2 separate regions of the Homo sapiens genome follow, and region 2 is linked to region 1. The links are contacts of gene promoters, found by promoter capture Hi-C in blood cells and fetal thymus (Javierre and others, 2016). All regions are on one chromosome and are shown on one strand. Each heading gives the region's core, a stretch centred on a gene start or on the middle of the fragment in contact. The rest is flanking DNA. Distances are from core to core; before and after follow the strand shown. Region 1 holds the start of NDUFB6 (NADH:ubiquinone oxidoreductase subunit B6). Region 2 has its middle 90 kb from the start of TMEM215.

Region 1 (5,502 bases), core at 1,135-3,634:
CCTTGGCCTCCCAAAGTGCTGGGATTACAGGCGTGAGCCACCACGCCTGGCCAAGATTTTTTTTAAGTTGTTTTTTTTTTGTTTGTTTTTGCGGGTTGTCTCTCAGTGGATTTACAATAATTCAATGGTTTAAAGTTATAGTTGATCCTTGAAAAAAACAGGTTGAACTTCGAGGGTCCATCATACGTGGATTTTCTTCTGCCTCTGGCACCCCAAGACAGCAAGACCAACCCCTCTCTTTGCCTCCTTATGATTTTCTTAATAACAGTTTATTTTCTCTGGCTTACTTTATTGTAATAATATAGCATATAATACATATACAAAATGTGTGTTAATTGACTGTATGTTATCAGTAAAACTTCTGGTCAAGAGTAGGCTATTAAGTTTTTGGAGAGTCCAAAGTTATATGTGGATGTTTGATTGTGCCAAGTGGAGGGGATTGGCACTACTAACCCTAGCGTTGTTACAAGGGCTATTGTATTTAGAATGATGTGTACCTTTGAGATTATGCCACCAAGTGGACCAATTAAGAGCTACTGGTTTTTACTTGATTTTTATGGACTGCTTTTTGTAAATTTAATTTTGTTTTGTAATGATATTGTTAAAATTAAAACTTTAGAAAAATTAAATTTAGCAGAAATTAATTGAGCAATGACCAATTTGAGAATCAGGCAGCCCTCAGAACCAGAGGAGGTTCAGAAAGTATCGTTCCACAAAGAGGCCAGGCAGCACGCATAGAAAAAAAACAGAAATGAGATACAGAAACAGCTTGATTGGCTACAGGTTGGCCTTTGCCTTATTTGAACATGGGCTGATCAGTTGACCACCTGTGATGATTGGCTGAGACTCAGTTATTTGTTACAGAAGTATATTCCTAAGTTAGGCTGTGAGTTAAATTGCATACTAAGTTGGGTTGCAGTTCATTATATAAGGACTCAAAATACGGAGACATCTTTAAGCTAAATTTAATTTCACAATATGAAATATTTACTTGGTTCTAAAGTCAAATTTATGAAGTAAGATGTTTCCAGAGATGTCTAGATTCTATCCCTGTCTCCTCTATCCTATTTATTTCCTCCACCATAGGTAGCATCTTTAAAAACCTCAATTGTTTTCATTCCCATTATTTTGAAAATTTAAGAAAATATGTATATATATTGAAATTACCACCATCTTTCTCTTTTTGGGTAAAAGCATACTGTACAAATTCCTATCCATTTTTTTTCCACTTTGTAATGTATTCTGGAGATCACACCACAGATGTATATAGAGTTCTTCCTTATTACTTTTGACGATTGTATTAGCATTTCATTGCTTTGTTGTGTGAAAGTTTTTGGGAAGCCACTGTTTTGGACTAGCTTCACGCACTAGGCCCCAGCAGACCAGACCAAACCAGAATGGAGTCGTTTGTGCTAAGTACCACACAATCAAACTGAACTTTGAAATGGGCCAGTTTCCCAAAAAATAGGAAATTCCCTTAAGTCTGAGTCAGTGAAACAAGGAAGTTTCTTCTGCTTTAACCCTAAAAGTAACTTTGAAACGATGAGTCCACTTTTTGTTCGGTTTCTGCTTTCTTCAGCCCCTATTTGCCAATAAAACCAACCGCCTCTGCTCAGCTGATCAGAACACTCATTCTACTTTATAGAATGAGGTGTTTTTTGATTCTAGAATCACGAATAAGAGTCAATTAAGATTTTTAAACTAATTCGTTGTAATGCTGTCTTTTGACTGTTGTACTACAATTTATTCAAGCAGTCCTTTATTTAGGAATTTGGGGGTAATTTCCAATATTTTGGTATTATGAATCGTGCTGAATAGTCGTGCATGCTCTTTCATATTTTCACCACACGTATTTTTGGGTGAAAGCATGAATTCATCTATGCAATTTTGCTAGATATTAAGCTACTCTTTTCACTATTCCTGTACAGATGGAGGGACAGATGAGACAGCTGCCCAGGGCACTTCAGCAGTTACTGGCATAGCTGGGATTTGAACTGGGATGTAACTATTTTCATACACTCTCTAGGTCATTCCAAGGTGGGAGAGGCAAGCAAATAATTTTGAATCTGGCCAGCATATTCACTGAAACATTTATGCTTATCCTTCCTCCTCCCAGCATACAAGTTCTTCCTTAGCAAAACCTCCAGTCCTCTAATTTAGCATACTTTCGTCTAATCTGTCACTTTCCTCAGGCCCCACAACTACGAGTACTCCTTGTCCCCACCCGGTCCTAATTTGGTCGGGTATAGCGGAGGTGGGCGTAGAGAGAACTGGAGGTGGAGACCTTTGTGCATGCCCACACACTGCTTTCCTCGCGAGGAATCTGGGGCCCTTGCAGAGGCGGAACCAGGATGTGACGTAATAACCGCGCGCGGCGCTCGGCGTTCCCGCAAGGTCGCTTTGCAGAGCGGGAGCGCGCTTAAGTAACTAGTCCGTAGTTCGAGGGTGCGCCGTGTCCTTTTGCGTTGGTACCAGCGGCGACATGACGGGGTACACTCCGGATGAGAAACTGCGGCTGCAGCAGCTGCGAGAGCTGAGAAGGCGATGGCTGAAGGACCAGGAGCTGAGCCCTCGGGAGCCGGTGCTGCCCCCACAGAAGATGGGGCCTATGGAGAAATTCTGGAATAAATTTTTGGAGAATAAATCCCCTTGGAGGAAAATGGTGAGTGACAGACCTCTCCGGTCCCCCCCAACACATCCCACTGCTGCCGGCAGCCTGAACACTGAACGTCCGCTCCCTGCAGCCACACCAAGGACTGATAACGCTCAGTGCTCTGGGACACTGGCCAGTCCCGAGAGTCCTCCTGGAGTCTCGGGAGGCAGGAGTCCAGGAATATGTATGGCTTTGAGAGAATCATGCCTTTTACTGTCAAGTACAGTGGACGGGGGCGAATTTTAATACTTAGGTTTTCCAGGACGCTGCACGTTTGGTTCTCTTTTGACTGTAGAAATCTTCCCTCAGAATAATAACCAAGGACTCGCTAGAATTAAAATTCTGTGATTTAAGTATTTGAGGACACTTGTCTGACTTTTAAGTGTGAGGTTCTAGAGACCAAGTAACACAGTATCCAACCACCAGAGGGCACAGCCAGCCCCTAGCTGATAGTACAGCCCCATGTGATCCCCGTAAAAGACAGGGTCCTGTTGGTATGCCTTGTGAGTCACATTCAAGAGCTACCTTTCTAAACTACCGTTCTGTACTTTTAACACAGTGTTTCATTAAAAAAATCGCATTTTGGGCTTTGAAGAAAATCACTCATTCAAGAACTTTATTTTCAAGGCCTCTGGGTATTTTCTTGAGGACTGTTATGGATGATAAACATCTCAGAATTGCTTTCAGTTACCTGCAACACTTACTGATGACAGGATAATAGTAGTAACAATACTACGTAACACACGGGTGCTTGCTGTGTGCTTGGCACTCTACTGGGGGTTTTACATGTGTTACTTCATTTCTTTATTCCTGTAAGGTAGATATTCCTAATCCTCATTTTAAATGTGAAGAAACTGAGGCCTACAAAGCTTCAGTGATTTGCTGGTGGTCAGGGAGCTAGGAATTGAATATGAGTTCATATTGTAATCAACATGTATCTGATTCTTACTGTGCTACAAAGTCTAGTGCAATAGAATTGTTGAAAATTTTTCTGAGAAAGTGATATTGGATACTTATTTATGGTGGTAAAATTCAACTCTTCTCCCACCCTTTGTATCCCTGACATTATCGGAATATTGGCAGTCACTGATTTAAAGTTGACATCCCATCCATCAGCAAGTGATATAAGGAAGTAAATAAATAATAATGTGTCGAAGTTCACCTTACCTTACTTTAATTTATTCTTTTATAATCATATCTGTTATAATTCTTAGATTCTGGATTGTCCCTTCCTTGAATGGATAGGTGTTTTTTAATCAAGTTGGAAGACATGGGAAAGTTCCATTTTTAGTTCTTTTTTAAAATAGTGTTGCAGAGGGCATTTTGGAGTGAGTTTGGGACACCCCATCTTAGTATGTAAAACGTCCTTTTTCCAGCATTGGCGTTGTCAAGGTTGTCTGCCTTATACCTAAAATGATGTGAGTGTCATTGATCAATAAATAAGGGAGATGACTATACCTGAAAAATTCTGTAGGTTTGATTACTCTGGTTAAATACATTAAAATTATTCTTTCATTATTTTGCTATATTTTATCTTTAACAAACTTATAATAAGGATATTTTTGGAAGTCTTTAAAAAATCTATAAATGCCTTGTTATAGTCTTGCAAAATACTGCTTAAGCATTTTGGTCTGGACTTTGTAGGTATCTTCTAGCAGACTCTGCATTTACTAAGAATATTTGAGTAGATGAGGTTACCTACAGACTATAAGAAAATATGTGCCATTTAGAGTTTTGTAAAATAGTCATGGCATTGTTACATCATTGATGCCTTTTGTTCTGCCATAAATATAAAAAATGGGATATGTTTATTTTGTGTATGTGTTTTTCCCCCCAGGTCCATGGGGTATACAAAAAGAGTATCTTTGTTTTCACTCATGTACTTGTACCTGTCTGGATTATTCATTATTACATGAAGTATCATGTTTCTGTAAGTATGTCCTTTTCAGAATTCATTTTTAATATTGTCCAAAATTACTTTCTTTGTGGCTATCTTACCCTACTTAGTGGAAATAATCTGCCACTTATAAACAGATTTTGAAGTACTTTGAATTCTCTTAGGTAAAAGGTTTAATGAAAGTTACATAATTGGGTATAGTTTTTAAAAAATATTGTCACTAGTTTACAACTTGAAATGGATTTCCTCATAGAAATTAGTATTTAAGTGATAAGAATGTAGTGACCTAATAATACTAGGGTAAATTTGGAGTCATGAATAGGAAGGGAGAAAACAATTCTGCTCCTTTTTAAAAACCTGTATCTCGTATAAGGTAAAAATTCAAAATAGACAAAGCATATCTTTGTCATCACCCAATTTCTGTTCCCTTCATTTTATCTGATTCTTCACAATTTTTATTTATTTAGAACTCAGGATGTCCAGATGCCTGCACTTTTTCACTGATACAGATCTTGCATGGGCTGATGGAACTGAGCCAGTTGTGGTATTTTAAAGGCTTGGTCTGGTGCAGGGTGTTGGATCCCAGGCAGAATGAGAAGGGCATGCATTTTGGGAAGTGGCGTGGCAGAGGGAGCAGTGGTGACTGCGTAGCCTGAAGTGTTGGAGCACAAAAGAGTGAGGAGGGCATTCGTATACCAAGAGAGGGGTGTTAGATCCTCAGTGGGTTGCAGGGGAGGAGGGTGAGCACATCTGTTTGGGGAGCAACAGTGGCAACAGCCTAGTATAGGATATTGGTACCTGAGCAGAGGGAGGAGGACATCTGGAAGAAGGATGGTATGAGGCAGTGAGGCAAGTGGTAACTCAGAGCAAGATGTCAGAACCTGAATGAGGTGAGGCAGGTATTAATGCTGGGATGTGGTTGTGGTGACAGGAGATGGGTTATATATAGGGA
Region 2 (5,502 bases), core at 1,179-3,678, 300 kb before region 1:
ACAGGCGTAAGCCACCATGCCTAGCCAGTCTTTCTTAATAGTCACAGGGAATTTCATTTGTCTGATATAACGTTTAAATTAAATAGGGTGGAAATACCTGTTTTCTTTTCCCTCCACCCATAAATTTCAATAATAATCATCCTTAGATTTGTCTTGTTGGATCTTAGCCTGTCAGATTGCTTTTTGCACATGAAACTACTGAGGTGGGATGGTTCAGTGACTTGCCTAAATCGTGCAGGGGGTGAGTGGCAGAGCCCAGACATAAACTTTGGCTCCTTGTCTGTTGCTCTTTCTAGTAAATTGGACTGCTTCCTGCTGTGGGGCACTGAGAAAACCCGTGACACCCAGGGTGCTGAGATGAGCAGGAAGTCACACGAGTCTGGAAGGCCACCTTTTTTAGGTGTAAGTCCTTTCTTCCTGGTGAAGTGCTTGTACATATAGATACTCAGGAAATGTTTATTGACTTGAACAGAGTAATACTGTCAGTGCCTGGTACCTAGTTAGCAGTCCATAAATAGTTACTAAATGAAAGCAGCAGAGCTTTCAAGAGCTTCAACGGAGCTGCCCACAAAAGCTCAGGATGCCTGAAAAGGCCGATGTCTTTTTCTCTACTCCTGGATTGGTAGGTAGGCTCAACCCTCGCATGGTGGTAAGGCCTCCTACATTCTCTGATGGCTCCTGACTTAACCTCCATTCTGGGCTGCAACTAAGATGAATCCTGAGGATACTTCCTACAAACAAGGGCATTGAGCCCAGCAGAGCCTGCTGGGCATCCAGGTTGGCTCATTAGTAGACAGCAAGCAGCTCTTCCTCCTGCCATGGCCCTGCAGCATGCCTGACATGGGAGCCATCCAGTCTCCTCCTGTGATTAACTGGCTGCAGTGTTCAGCAGAGCTCTCAGTCAGGAAGTAGCTGGACTCCAAACCCAGCTTCTTGGAAGCTCCTAATTGGGCTCTACCTGTCAAGAGGTAATAGAGAGAGACTTATTGATATGTTTGAAGTGCAACTTTGTGCTTTTTGATAACTAATAAATAGGATATTGGAACTTTCTTATTTTGCAGCCCAGTCTACAGAAGACATGTGAAAGATATTTATAGCTTTCATAACTGTGATCCTACTCCTTCCTAATTGCCAAGTAGTCCTCCCCACCCCCATCCCCCTTTTTTTTTTTCTGTGAATCATCTAGGACTTAGAGTCATTGCAACTGGCTAGAGAGGGACTTTAATCATCCTGAAGATTCCCAGATAGCTTGGGAGACAATAATATCATGTAAAAGATAGCTGCTTTCTTCCCTTTGGTTTGGGGACTTGGTTAAAGAAATGTTAGTAGATGGACAATATTTAGATTTTATATTCTGTGCCAGTAGTGCTAAGAAAAGATTACTGGCTTCAAGAGTGAGCAGTTCTAGGAGAGCGAGAAACCACAGCTAGGAGCTCCACCAGCCCTTGAAGATGCAGAGACATTTATCCAGTCCAGAGGGATGGGGAGATAACACACTGAGTATGGAATAGTGGTTAAGAGCCCTGGTTTCACAGTTAGGCTAATTCAGTTCAAATTGTACCTCTATTACTCATTAAGGGGTGACATTAGGGAAATCACATGATGTTTGAGCCTCAATTTCTGCATTTGTTTTATTTGGATGATGGTATGTATGTAACTGGGTTATAGCACATTCTAAGAGGGTGTGGGTAGGGATAGGGATGGTGGTATGTACCTCATGGTGTTATAGCACATTCTAAGAGGACAAATCGTAGCAACATTATTTTATATTCTTACTGAGCGTGCAAGCTTAAGCATGTCACTTAACTTCTCTGGGCCTCAGTCTCCTCATTTGAAAGGCATTAGAGCAGACGATGATTCTTTGTGTAAAATGGAGTCCAGTCAGGAGACAAGCCATGCCCATTGTTTTAAAAGAGAAGTTGATACAATTCATTATTAACCAGGAATTAAAGAACTGGAAAGGCAATCAGGGAGCACAAAGGAGCCACAGAGGAAACAGCTGCAGGGGCTGGGAACAGAGTGAAGAAGTTGTGACTATTAAAACTCAGAAACTTGGAGAAGGGGATGCACCTCTTAGCTCAGGTGGGTCCTGATGCCTCTGGGGAGGGGGAAGGAGAGTGGTACAACATGGCTGGTGCTGAGAAAACTGCAATCAGAATCCCTGTGCTGTGGCAACAGACTGCTATAGGAGTTCTAAAGAAGAAACCTTTCTGGGGCCATGCTGACCTAAATGGGAAGCAGGCAGGAAGTAGCCGATGGCGTCTCCCTCCTTTAGGTATCCCTTTAGGACTCCCCACCCCTAGAAAACACCTCAAGAGAGCAGCTGGCAAAGGAGAAATGGGCTGTGCAGGGTCCCATCCCCAGTATCACAAGGCAGAGTGTACAAGAGTGGGCTTGGAGAACATACTGTAATAACTGAGATTCTCAAACGTTCCTTTTAGGTCAGAGACTATGAGTCAGATTCTGAATCCCAAGCAGAGAACTCTGTACGTGGGCTCTTGGGACAGCCAGCATGTATGGTGGAATGAGTTTGAGCGCTGGAGTCAAACAGATCTGGGTTGTAATCTTATCTCTGACTCTTATCAGCTATGGGATGTTGGAGAAGCTACTTTGAATTTCTCTGAACCTCATTTCCTCCTATGTAAAATGATGATACAGTACCAATACCCATCTCATAGGGTTATTGTGATAATTAAACAAGAAGACACGTGAAAAGTGCCAGGTGGGGGTGTCTGGCACATGCACGGCAGCCATTATTATTATGAGGGGTTTTTTCAGTGATATCTGCTGATCAGCTTGCTCCGTTTGTTGGCTGCACACACTGATGTGGGCTGTTTTGTTTCTTCCACTCAGATGTGGTTCGGTGGACTGTGGAGGGGAGCCTGGGCAGCGGGTTGACAGTGGCCAAGGATTCCCATGCCAGCAGGGGCACCGGGGGCAGCATCTGCATGGCTGCTCTTGGCTTCTAGGAAGCGGCACTTCACCCAAAGTAAGCTCGTAGGCTGGTTCCTGAGGAGTGTGTTCAGTGCAGGGCAGGGGAGATGTTCCTACGACTGTGCCAAGCTTGAGCTGCAGTGAGTGGGCTCTTGGATGCCCTTCAAGCCAGAGGCAAGAATTTGATTTCCTAGGCAGAAATTCTGTAAACTAAGAGAATCATCTAGAATCTTTTTTCTCCACTCAACAGAGCTCTTATCCTTTTACTTTTTTTGGGTGAGTTCTTAAGCTAGAAATGATATGGACATACAGACCATTCATATTCTTGGAGGCATTAATAACTGGCTTTTCATTAGGTACCTACTTTGTGCCAACTATTGTACAAGGTCCTTTCTATGCATTATCTCTTATTCTTGAATCCTACAAGGTAAGTTTTAGTTTCCTAACATTCTATTCAAGGAAACCGAGGCACAGAGCTGGGAAATAAACTTGCCCAGGGTTTTCAAATAGTATTAAGTGGAGTCAGGATTAGAACCCAGGTCTGTTGGATTCTAGGCCTTTCTTTTACTCTTAAGCCAGGCTTTTCCCAGTGCTAGTTAAAAGTCGTGCAAATGTAACTTAGACAATGTCTGCATTTGTGGGTCACGCAGTGGTAGATTACCTAGCAGTGTACCCAACATACTTCCTTCCAACTCCCCATTGAAATAACAATTAAAGTGGTTTAAATGGCCTCTATTTAGCAGCCTCCCATCTTTACCCAGTGTCTCAAGAAAATGCCTAAAACACAAAGAAAAAGACAAATACTCGTAACTCAAATGGACAGTTTTGGGTGTGATTTAAATCTGCTATGGAGAATATTTTATTTAGCCAATATTCCAACAATTATTGGGGAGGAAATCTATGTAACCAAAAATGTGTTCTTAACCCAAGACAAGGCAGTCAGCTTTTTATGGTAAAACCATTCACCTAAGAGGTACATCTCTGACAATTTTTTCCCTTTAAATGTCTAAGTAATTTTGCGATTGCTATAAGCATCATAGGTGATAGGATTAAGCAGTGCTATTTCTTAGAAGCTCCTGCACACAGCATGGCCACCCGTCCCCTTCTGACAGATTCACCATAGGCTTAGCTAGAACAGGTTTTGCTAACAAATTCTGCTTGATGTGAGAAAAGCTTCTGAAAATACAGATTTCCAAAAGTTGTAGGAAGAGTGAAGTTGGGTTGAAAAAAACAATTTGCAGACTCTACTTGCTTCACCCTGCATAAAAGAGCAGTATTATTTGCTCAAGAGAAGGTGGGAAATGGCTTGTTCTTGCCCCATTGCCAGCTCCCTGCCTTGGAGGCCTCGGGTCTGTGCTAATATTATGATTCTAAATTTTATTTGGAAAAATTAACAGATGAGAGTAAACAGGGATGTTGTGTGTGTGTGTGTGTGTGTGTGTATGTCAAGGGGGTGGTGGTGGTGGTGAGAAATAGTATGCAAGAGGAGTACTTTCACTATTTGATTTTTTTTTTAAATAGAAAATTAAAGTAATTAGAAGAGTGTATGATTGGGAGAAAAAGACTTGGCAAATAGATTTGGAATAGAATAGATAAGTTTGAAATGGACAAATGGATATGTGTGTAATAAATGCATGGCAAAGCTCAAATATCTGAAAAGAGGAAAGATTATTCAATAAATTGTGCTGCAACAATAGATTAGTATGGAGGGCTGGGTGTGGTGGCTCACGCCTGTAATCCTACCACTTTGTGAGGCCGAGGCAGAAGGATCATTTGAGCTCAGGAGTTTGAGACCAGCCTGGGCAACACAGTAGACCCCATCTCTAAATAAACAAACAAACAAACAAAGTAAATAAATAAAAAATAAAAAATAGATCAATATGGGAAAAATCAAATTATAGCCTCACCTTATCTTATTTTTCAAATTAATTTTAGGTTGTTTAAATAATTCATTGTAAAAGATGAAAGGAAAAAATTTTAAGAAAGGAATTTACGAACCGAAAAGCAATGAATAAACTTGAAAGGAACATATTGATAGATTTATCTGCATTAAAAGATGAAGATATATAACTTATTTGATTCTTCTTGGAAGACCAAGTGAGATTAATTTGTATTAAAATGCTCGGCACACTGTAAAGTGGAATAACTTAAAAGTATTCGGAGCCATTGATAGGAGGATGTAATTTTTTCATTTGGTGGTCACAATCCAAATTTTTTCTCCCAATTTTCACTTAAGCATGCTAGAATTTAGTTCATTACAGCTGTTTTCTAAAATTTTTTATTAAAAAAAAATTTTTTAAATGGGGACTCCCTATGTTGCCCAGGCTGGTCTTGAACTCCTGAGCTCAAGTGATCCACCCACCTTGGCCTCCCAAGGTGGGATTACAGGCGTGAGCCACTGCACCCAACCTTAGAGCTGTTTTGTTTTAACAAAAGCATAAACAATAATTTATTCCCTACCATAATTTCACAGCAAAGGTATTCATTACTATTTTGAGAAGGAAAGTAGCACCTAGCTAACGTATATGAATTCATTCTCTCAAATATTTCCTACCTGAAGAACACAGG

The links. The method cuts DNA at HindIII sites, captures the fragments that hold promoters and counts their contacts. A CHiCAGO score of 5 or more calls a contact.
Region 2: a contact is called between a fragment that was not itself captured here and the fragment with the promoter of NDUFB6 in region 1, in 1 of 17 cell types (M2 macrophages). The highest score is 5.2, in M2 macrophages.

Annotation. Positions count from the first base shown.
Region 1 is chr9:32,570,041-32,575,542 of GRCh38, reverse strand. It overlaps NDUFB6 (NADH:ubiquinone oxidoreductase subunit B6), which reads left to right and starts at 2,384. Exons shown (of 4, transcript NM_002493.5): 1 at 2,384-2,662; 2 at 4,491-4,583. The coding sequence starts at 2,483. RefSeq lists enhancers at 1,977-2,026, 2,297-2,836. The HindIII fragment of the contact is 6,496 bases long and covers 1-3,524 here.
Region 2 is chr9:32,870,756-32,876,257 of GRCh38, reverse strand. No RefSeq gene overlaps it. Among named protein-coding and RNA genes, the nearest start is that of TMEM215, 90 kb to the right of the region's middle. The HindIII fragment of the contact is 1,275 bases long and covers 1,791-3,065 here.